2 separate regions of the Homo sapiens genome follow, and region 1 is linked to region 2. Evidence: promoter capture Hi-C in 16 types of primary human blood cells and fetal thymus (Javierre and others, 2016). All regions are on one chromosome and are shown on one strand. Each heading gives the region's core, a stretch centred on a gene start or on the middle of the fragment in contact. The rest is flanking DNA. Distances are from core to core; before and after follow the strand shown.

Evidence for each region. Contacts are between HindIII fragments. The CHiCAGO score rates a contact against its expected background, and 5 or more counts as called.
Region 1: a fragment that was not itself captured here is called in contact with the fragment with the promoter of CECR3 in region 2 in 2 of 17 cell types (erythroblasts and non-activated CD4 T cells); the score reaches 5.7 in erythroblasts.

The regions. Positions count from the first base shown.
Region 1 is chr22:17,129,257-17,133,779 of GRCh38, forward strand. It overlaps LINC01664 (long intergenic non-protein coding RNA 1664), which reads left to right. Exons shown (of 4, transcript NR_103793.1): 3 at 1,106-1,228; 4 at 2,359-2,848. Among named protein-coding and RNA genes, the nearest start is that of LINC01664, 9.9 kb to the left of the region's middle. The HindIII fragment of the contact is 7,377 bases long and covers 1-4,523 here.
Region 2 is chr22:17,264,784-17,269,503 of GRCh38, forward strand. It overlaps CECR3 (cat eye syndrome chromosome region, candidate 3), which reads right to left and starts at 1,950. Exons shown (of 3, transcript NR_038398.2): 1 at 1,740-1,950. RefSeq lists enhancers at 1-399, 4,720. The HindIII fragment of the contact is 21,393 bases long and covers 1-4,233 here.

The sequences.
Region 1 (4,523 bases), core at 143-2,642, 140 kb before region 2:
TAAGACATAGACCAATTGCACTTATGAACATAGACAAAGAACTCCTGAACAAATTACCAGCAGTAGCGGCCAGCAACATGTAACATAACCAACTTGGTTTTATCCCAGGGATGAAAGAAAGAGTTAAAGATGACAACAGGCTGGGCATAGTGACTCACGCCTGTTATCCCAACATTCTAGAGGCCAAGGTGGGAGGAGCGCTTGAAGCCCAGGAGTTTGAGAGCCGCCTAGGCAACATGGCAAGACCTCACCTCTACAAAAAATTAAACAATAAAATTAGCTGGGGTGTGGTGGCACATACCTGTAGTCCCAGCTACTTGGGAGGCTGAGGCGGGAGAATTGTTTAAGCCCGGGAGGTCGAGGCTGCCGTGAGCCAGGACTGCACAACTGTACTGCAACCTGGGTGACAGAGAGAGACCCTGTCTCCAAAAAAAAAAAAAAAAAAAAAGATAAAAACAAAATATATTAATATGGTTTACCATATTAACAGATTAAAGGAGAAGAACACTTAAGATCAACTCAACAAATACAGAGAAACAAACATTTAATATCTATTCATGAATTTCAACAAAAATTGAGCAAAACAAAATTTTTTGCTCTATTGGTCTTGCTCTGTTGTCCAGACCAGAGTGCAGTGGCACAATCATAGTTCACTGCAGGTTTGAATCCTGGGCTCAAGCAACCCTCCTGCCTCAGCCTTCCAAGTAGCTGTGACTACAAGCATGTGCCACCACGCCCAGCTATTTTTTTGTTTGTTTGTAGAGAGAGGGTCTCCCCATGTTGCCCAGGCTAGTCTCAAACTCCTGGACTCAAGAGATCCTCCTGCTTCTGCCTCCCAGAGTGCTGGGATTATAGGTGTAAGCCACCAAGCCTGGCCAGAATTTCTTTATTCCTAGTAAATAGTAATATGGCAACAGAGACAGACTAGATGCTGTTCAATCCCATTTCCTCTTCCTAGACAGAGAAAGACCACATTTCCCATCCTCTTTGCAGTCACATTAGAACCATGTGGCTAGCCAATAAACATGCACACATGTGGCACCCACCACAGCCTGGTTCGGCCATAAATCCCTTCACAGTTATCCATTCACACTCTCTCCCACAGACCTTGGACCCATGTGTGGAAGATGACAGCATCACCAACTGGAGGGTGCCTGGATCCCTGAGTCACCACTTGAAGCAAAAAGGTCAAGAGTAGCCACCTGACCCATATCAGGCTATGAAATGAGTAAGAAAGAAAGATTTTGTGAGGCCACATTTTCATACATGTGTAGGTCTGTTTCTGGGTACTCTCCTTTGTGCCATTGGTTTGTGTCTCTCCCTCTGCCAGTAGTACAGTGTCTTAATTACTGTAACTTCATAAAAATGTTTGATATCTGATAGGCAAGTCCAGGGTCAAGACAGGATGAATTCCTCTAGAACAAGGGAATTTCTCGTTTCTTTTCTTTCTTTCTTTTTTTTTTTTTTTTTTTGAGATGGAGTCTCACTCTGTCATCCAGGCTGGAGTGCAATGGTGCAATCTCGGCTCACTGCAACCTCCGCCTCTCGGTTTCAAGTGATTCTCCTGCCTCAGCCTCCCGAGTGGCTGGGACTACAGGCACGTGCCACCTGCCTGGCTAATTTTTGTTTTGTTTTGTTTTGTTTTTAGTAGAGATAGGGTTTCACTATGTTGGCCAGGCTGGTTTCAAACTCCTAACCTCAAGTGATTCGCCTGCCTCGGCCTCCCAAAGTGCTGGGATTACAGGCGTGAGCCACCGAGCCCGGCCCTCATTTCTTAACACTGCATTTGGTAGGAGAGCAACAGTCATTTATATGTGAATAAATGAAGCCGAAAGAGGAAGTTAGAAAGACCAAAGGGGCCGGGCGCGGTGGCTCCCGCCTGTAATCCCAGCACTTTGGGAGCCCGAGGCAGGCGGATCACGAGGTCAGGAGATGGAAACCATCCTGGCTAACACAGTGAAACCCCGTCTCTACTAAAAATTAAAAAAATAAAATTAGCCGGGGGTGGTGGCGGGTGCCTGTAGTCCCAGCTACTGGGGAGGCTGAGGCAGGAGAATGGCGTGAACCCGGGGGGCGGAGCTTGCAGTGAGTCGAGATCGTGCCACTGCACTCCAGCCTGAGCAACAGAGCGAGACTCCGTCTCAAGAAAAAAAAAAAAAAGAAAGACCAAAGGAAGAAGCAGACAAGAAAGGAAGAAGGAACACCCCTCCCCTCTCCAAAGAGACAGCTCCAGGAACGCCAAGGCTGCTCGCCTAGGGATGCAGAGCCAGAAAGCTCAAATCAGAGGGGGAGGAGGTAGGGAAGGAGTTTCAAGCTAGACTCCTATTCTCTCTCTCCATCCCCTCTCACCCCAAAAAGAGAGAAAATGACACGAGGCTTTGGAACCAAGAGCTGGAGGAACCTGGAAGCGAAAGCTGAGGCTGTCGGCTGCCCAGCAGTTAACACCCTGAGACCATCTTCCCACTTCCAACACCCACAGAAGCTGCCACCCAAGGGCCCCTGTGTCCCCGCATGGCCCACCTCAGCAGTATGATGCAGCACTGGGGAAGTGACAGAATGTGAAAAAAACTATTATAGCTGAGATATTTTAAAATTCCGCCCTCCAGGCAGCATCTGGTTGCTACAGCAACCCCAGCTCTGCAGGGTGTCCCGATTACCAGCAGGCTCCCTGCACCTGCCTCAGGCTGAGAGCAGGCGGCTGCCGCCAAGGGGAACACCAAGGAAATGCCCATGTTCTGATTCCAAGGTAATGGCTCAGACCCAAGGGGATTTTATCTGTTCAATGTGCAACCTGATGAAGTTTTGTCCCATGTTAATAATTTCATTAAAAATATGGCCTTACATCCTATTCGATGCACTCAGTCTTTTTTTTTTATTCACTCGGCTCCATCAAAACACAAAAAGATAACATTGTCATTCATTTGGGATTGAGCAAATGAAAGCAGCTGGATGAGTTTTGGTTCCAGGGTTTAGACAAAGCCCCTAAGGGACAAAATTGGAATCAGAGCTGAGTGGCTGGCCCTGCTCTCTGGATTTGCATAAGTCATGTGGCAGGACACTTGCTCTTTTGCACCCAGCCTAAAATAGCTTATGATATCTTTAGGAAACCCAAACGAGTAATAAATAGGGGGCTGGGCACTGTGGCTCACACCTGTTATCCCAACACTTTGGAAGGCTGAGGCAGGGGTATCACTTGAGCCCAGGAGTTCCAGACCAGCCTGGGTAACATAGCAAGTTCCTGTTTCAATAAAAAAATTACAGGCTGGGCACGGTGGCTCACGCCTGTAATCCCAGCACTTTGGGAGGCTGAGGCAGGTGGATCACCTGAGGTCAGGAGTTTGAGACCAGCCTGGCCAACATTGTGAGACCCCATCTCTATTAAAAATACAGAAAATTAGCTGGGTGTGGTGGCGGGCGCCTGTAATCCCAGCTACTCGGGAGGCCAAGGTGAGAGAATCACTTGAACTCGGGAGGCAGAGGTTGCAGTGAGCCGAGATTGCACCACTGCACTCCAGCCTGTGCGATAGAGCGAGACTCCGTCTCAAAAAAAAAAAAAAAAAAATTACATTAGCTGGGTGTGGTAGTGCACACCTGTAGTCCCAGCTATTTGGGAGGGTGAGGTGGGAGCATCACTAGAGCCCAAGGAAGTCAAGGCTGCAGTGAGCCATGATCACGCCACTGCACTCCAGCCAGAGTGTGTGGTGTGTGGTGGTACACACCTGTAATCCCAGCACTTCAGGAGGCTGAGGCGGGAGAATTGCTTGAGCCCAGGAGTTCAAGACCAGCTGGGTCAACATAGCGGGACCCCATCTCAAAATATAATAAATAAATAAGTGAAATTAAATGAGAAAGAATGAATGGTTTCTGACTTTGTGCCTTCATTTCTGAAAATGGCATAGATAAGAATTCTCTCTCCATGAGGGGCTTTGTGAGGCTCTAACAAAGTAGGAACGGATGACACCTGTTTCAAAATGCTTTGGAAAATGCTAACCACCATGCAAATGTGAGCCAGCAAGACTGGGTCCTGGCCAGCAGCTCAGATGGCCAACACAAAGGTGCTTCGGAGGCCAGGGCTGGTCTTCAGAGACTCAGAGACTTGCGTCATGTCCTGGAGCAGCTGCTCTGGGTGCAGCCCAGATGAGCTCAGGTCAGATAGGTCAACAGGTCAACCTCACCACCCAGATTGACAGAATAACCCAGCTCAGTGCCTTGGTGCTGTTGGCGCCACGAGGCACCTGCCCAACACGCACCCCATGAGCCTTTCACACACAACCCGAATTTTGTTTGAGCGACAATGTGCCAGTCCCTGCCTGTCACTGGGGGTGTCTGTGTGACCCCCTCGTCATCACCTGCAGAACTGGAGGTCAGAAGGGGGCACTCCTGGGGATGAAGCTCCATGAGCTCTGCTCTGGGCCCTTCCCTCCCTCCCCCTTCTCAGTGGGGCTGAGGGGCTTGCACGTGTAAGGGGGCCACCTTGCCACTGGACAAAGCATGCGTGCTGAGGATGGTGGGGTGGGCACTGA
Region 2 (4,720 bases), core at 700-3,199:
ATGCCAGGCAGCCCAGCCAGAGGTGAGCTGGGTCACAGGGGTGAGCTGCCAGGCCTGCTCACCCCTCTTCTTGGTGTGATCCCCTCAAGTCCAATCCCCAGGGACCTTCCCCAGGAATGCTGAGAGCACCAGCTGTCCCGGCCATGTCAGGCATCTGGCCACCAGGTCTCCTTCCACTCCAGGGGCAACCACCGCCAGAGGGAAAAACGGAAACACCAGGTTATTTGTGATCTGCATACTCACTCCTCGTTTAGAGAGACAAGCAGGAGGCCAGGGGAATAGATGGGACTGTGGGAACAGCCAAGGGCAGAGGGTGAAGGGCGGCGATCAGAAGGAAAGACGGAATGCCCACACATTCCCTGCCGCTCCCGGCTCCAGCCGTGGAGGAAGCGGGGCTCGGAGGACATTGCACCAGACAGGTCTTGTTTAGAAAATTGGAAAAGAACAAATATTGATTACAAGAGTGCAGGAGAATGGGCCCTTCCATCATCAAAAACAGGTATTCAGCCAGGCGAAGTGACTCACGCTTGTAATCCCAGCACTTTGGGAGGCAAAGGCAGGAGGATCGCTTGGGCCCAAGAGTTTGAGACCAGCCTGGGCAGCATGGTGAAACCCAGTCTCTACAAAAAATACCAAAAATTAGCTGGGTGTGGTGACGTGTCTGTGGTCCCAGCCATTCGGGTGGCTGAGGTGGGAGGATTGCTTGGGCCCGGGAGGTCGAACCATGTTCACACCATGGCATTCCAGCCTGGATGACAGAATGAGACCCTGTTTCTAATAATAACAGTAATAATAATAATAAAATACATACTCACTAGCTATGACTCTGCTTTACAGGATAATTGGGGCAAAAATGTTCTTGGGTGAAACTGGGTAACCTAATTTGAAAGGTCTGGGAAACATGGCCCAATTTCAGCCTCGCTCGCCACTCACAGGCCAAGTGGAGGTTGCGGTTCATAACATACTGGACACTAGACATCACTAATGCCTTCATTCTACAAATGGGAAAACCATGGCTGAGAGGTCACCTGATCTCCCAAGTTCACTCAGAGACGTGGGGATGGGCCGAGCTCCAGAGCCTGGGCCTTGCCCTGCTCCACCCCATACAGCACGAAGTTCCCTGGCCAACTAAGGAAGGAGTGCAAGGTGACTGAAGAAAACAAAAACAAACAGAACTGACACAAAAAACAAACAAACAAAACTGAGTGCCAAAGAAGGAGAATTTGGGGGCTGAGGCTGTGGCTGCAGAGTGGGAGTGGGGATAATCAACGCTGGGCTCCTGAGTGTCTCTGGAAGGGCGGGCCCTGGTGTCCAGAGCGCCTGGTGCCCACCTTCCCCTTTCCCCCAGGGCCCCTGTCTGAGAGCTCTTCTACCCACTCCTGGCTGCTGGGGCACCTGATATTTTCCAAAACACAATTTTCACACCCTTAATAGTGGGCTGCGGAGGAGTCAGGATCAGAGCCTCTAGCTCAGATTTCCTTCCCTGAAAGGATACGGTCTTAGAAACTGCATGCTGTGCAGAGTCCTATCATTCAGAAGAAACACAAAACCCAAGCCCTGGGGAGTCACGTGGCCACCACGGATGCCCCGGCCTCGGACTAAGCTAAGGGCATTAGCCCGGGTGGCCTGTAGCTGCTCTGCAGCTCTGATCAGTCCTACAGACACATGGCACCCCCCACCTGTCACCTTTAGGACCCTCCAGTCAGGCCCCCTTAAGATGCAGTGTTCCCCATGCTCACCTTTGAGGCTTACTCTGCTGCTAAGGAAACAGCATGCAACTTCCCAGGGTTATGAGAAATAATTTTCCTAGGAATGTCACCAGCTGCAGACGCCCCTGTCATAAACTGTCCCAGCTCTAAGCCGCCTAGGGCTTTTATCCCCTCCTCTTAGCTACTCATTACCCAGCTTAATTAGGCCAGGAAATGCTGGCGCTGAAGACACTCTCGGCAGGAGGCAGGGCTGGAGGAGAGATTCTCAGCAGCGCCACTTCCTGAGGCTTGATCTGGGGGCTGGGGAAGGCTGTGGAGGAGGTCGGCTGGGGATGGCAGGCTGCGTCCTCCAGTGAACAGCTGCTGGGAACGAAGCAGGGATGCACGCATTTGCTCCCCAGGCCCTCCAGGGAGCTGAGGGTTGCACTTGTTTACGGTAACAGCACCGGATCTGAAGGCCTTGGAAGGCTCTGCCTGCCCCCACCCCAACCCTCCCATCTCAATTAACCAGCTTCACCACCCCACCCCCACTCTTTCCTAGGGAAGAGGTTGAAACCTCAGTTACCACTCACAATATTTCAGCCCCAACCCTGACATAATCACAGTCAAAGACCCAGCCTGAGATGCCTTCCATTTTCAGCCAGCCCCTGACCTTCACCCTGAACCACCTTGGTCATGCACAACCTCCTGGTTCTTCACTAGGTGGAACACAGGAATGGGGTTGCCTGCTATAGAGCTGTATGTGCTTCACCCAGTTTTGGAGCTTTCTGCTCCAGTGGCGTTGGAAGGGGAGTAGCAATGTTGAGGGTTCATAGAATGGGGTTTATATCAGACAGATGGGGGTCTAGACTGTAGCTCTGCCCCAGGTCATTCTGTGACCTTGAATATGCTATTTCATTTTTCTGCACCTAAGTTTCTTTAGCTGCAAAAATGGGGGTGCTAATATCGGCTTCTTGGGAGGTTGAGATGATCTTATATCCTTATAGTAGACACAGGCAAATGTTCAGTAAGAAGTGGCCGGTATCTCCGATGTGGGGCACTAGTTCAGAGGCCTGCAGTTACCAACTTTTCTTTGCTGGGAGGTATGGAAAGGGGAAAACTAGTATTAATGAGATCCCGCTATCTGTGGAAGGTATTCATACTTACACGATTTTCCTTTCATTTCCCAATTATCTGTGGAGGCTTTGAGATTTAAATGAGTAAACTGAGGCTCGGAGAGGGTAGGAGGGTGAGTCATGCCTCATGAGTGGCAGAGCAGATCATACAACAGGGCTACGGCAGATGCCCAGGGCTGCTGAGTCTGGGACTGCTTCGTGGCCTGGAAATGTCAGAATGACACCAGTCTAGGCCAGGCGCAGTGGCTCAGGTCTGTAGTCCCAGGACTTGGGGAGGCCGAGGTGGGCGGATCACTTGAGGTCAGGAGTTCGAAACCAGCCTGGCCAATATGGTGAAACCCGTCTCTACTAAAAATTCAAAAATTAGCCAGTTGTGTTGTTGGGCGCCTATAGTCCCAGTACTCAGGAGCCTGAGGCACAAGAATCGCTTGGACCCGGAAGGCAGAGGCTGCAGTGAGCTGAGATCAAACCATTGCATTCCAGCCTGGGCGTCAGAGCGAGACTTATCTCAAACAAACAAACAAACAAAAGAATCACACCAGCCTAGAGCGAGTAGGATGACTAGAATCTCAGCAGCCACAGCACCAGGTGGATCATCGCCCTGGAGAGGGGAATATGAGGGCTGAGTCACAGTGTCATCCAAAAAGGACTTGTCAGCCTCTGCAGAGGCTGCCTCTCACCTGCGGAACACGTACCCACTGTGCTGTAAGTCCTGGAGCAATTTGCTTCAGCCTTCTCAGGTGTATGGTTTTATGCCTTGGCTTTTCCATTGTGTCCACATTTTCTCAGAAAATGCAAACTTCTTGAGAAGTGACCTCATTTCCCTCACCTGCAGCAAGACAAACGTAATTCTTGGCACTCAGATATGCAATAGTGCTGTGATTTTAACTTTTCTATGTAACTGTAACTTTGAAAAGTACTCTCCCATTCCACCAAGCAAAAAAAGAAAAAAAAAAAAAAGCCCCAGGGCAGGGGTGGAGGGATTGGGGCGTAAGGGGAACCTCCAATTCCATCCAGAGGAGGGCACTAGTCCATCTGCTCAGGCCCTCCACACATCGAGGTGCTCCTAGGTCCCCAAGAAAATCTCTTGATCCACCCAAAGAATCCCAAACTACTGACCATTGGTTTCCAAGGTCCATGAGTCATGACACTCTTAGACTTACTTAGCTGGTAAGATGCTTCTCATTTGAAAAACACAAAATCAAGAAAGCTCCTGGCTGAGCAGCTAGAGGCATAAGAAACCTTGGAATCCTAAACCATCAGGGTCTCTGGCTTTGTCAGTCTCTGTTGGGATCCTAGATAAGTGAAGTCAGGGGTAAAGAAAATAAATCGGCAGCTTCCCAGGGTGCTGGAAAGGCTGTCAGGCAGAACTTCCTTCCATGTGGCTCCAGGGAGCAGAACTTGGGTAAAGCTTCAGAAAGGCCGCTGTGGGCTTCACATGCAGCTGTTCCTAACCCCTGGGGCTGTCAGGAATTCTGTCTTGCTAAGGAAGGAAGGCCAGGCAGTGCAGGTGCAGGTGGGGGTTCTGGGGAGGTGGGTGCTGGGGGACTGTGCACCGAGGAAGATGTGGGGCCCTCAGGGTCACACCTCCCACCCCCAGAATTCTACAGACAAAGATGCTGTGATGTATAACTAGGAAAGGTGAAGGTGGGGGGACAGCCACTGAAACAGAGCCAGGATGTTGAGCTCTAACCCAGGGATTTTCCTCTCAACACCATCTGGGGCACGCTTTTAGAGCATCTCCCCTCCCCATTCACTCTACACCTCCTTTCCACCCACCGGGAGGCTCCATCTTCCTCAGTTGACTCCCACACAGAGGCAGAAGAAGGAGAAGCTGCCTCCACCCTGAGGAGCTTGGGGGCAAACATCTGCTCCCTACCATTGTTTCCCCTTATT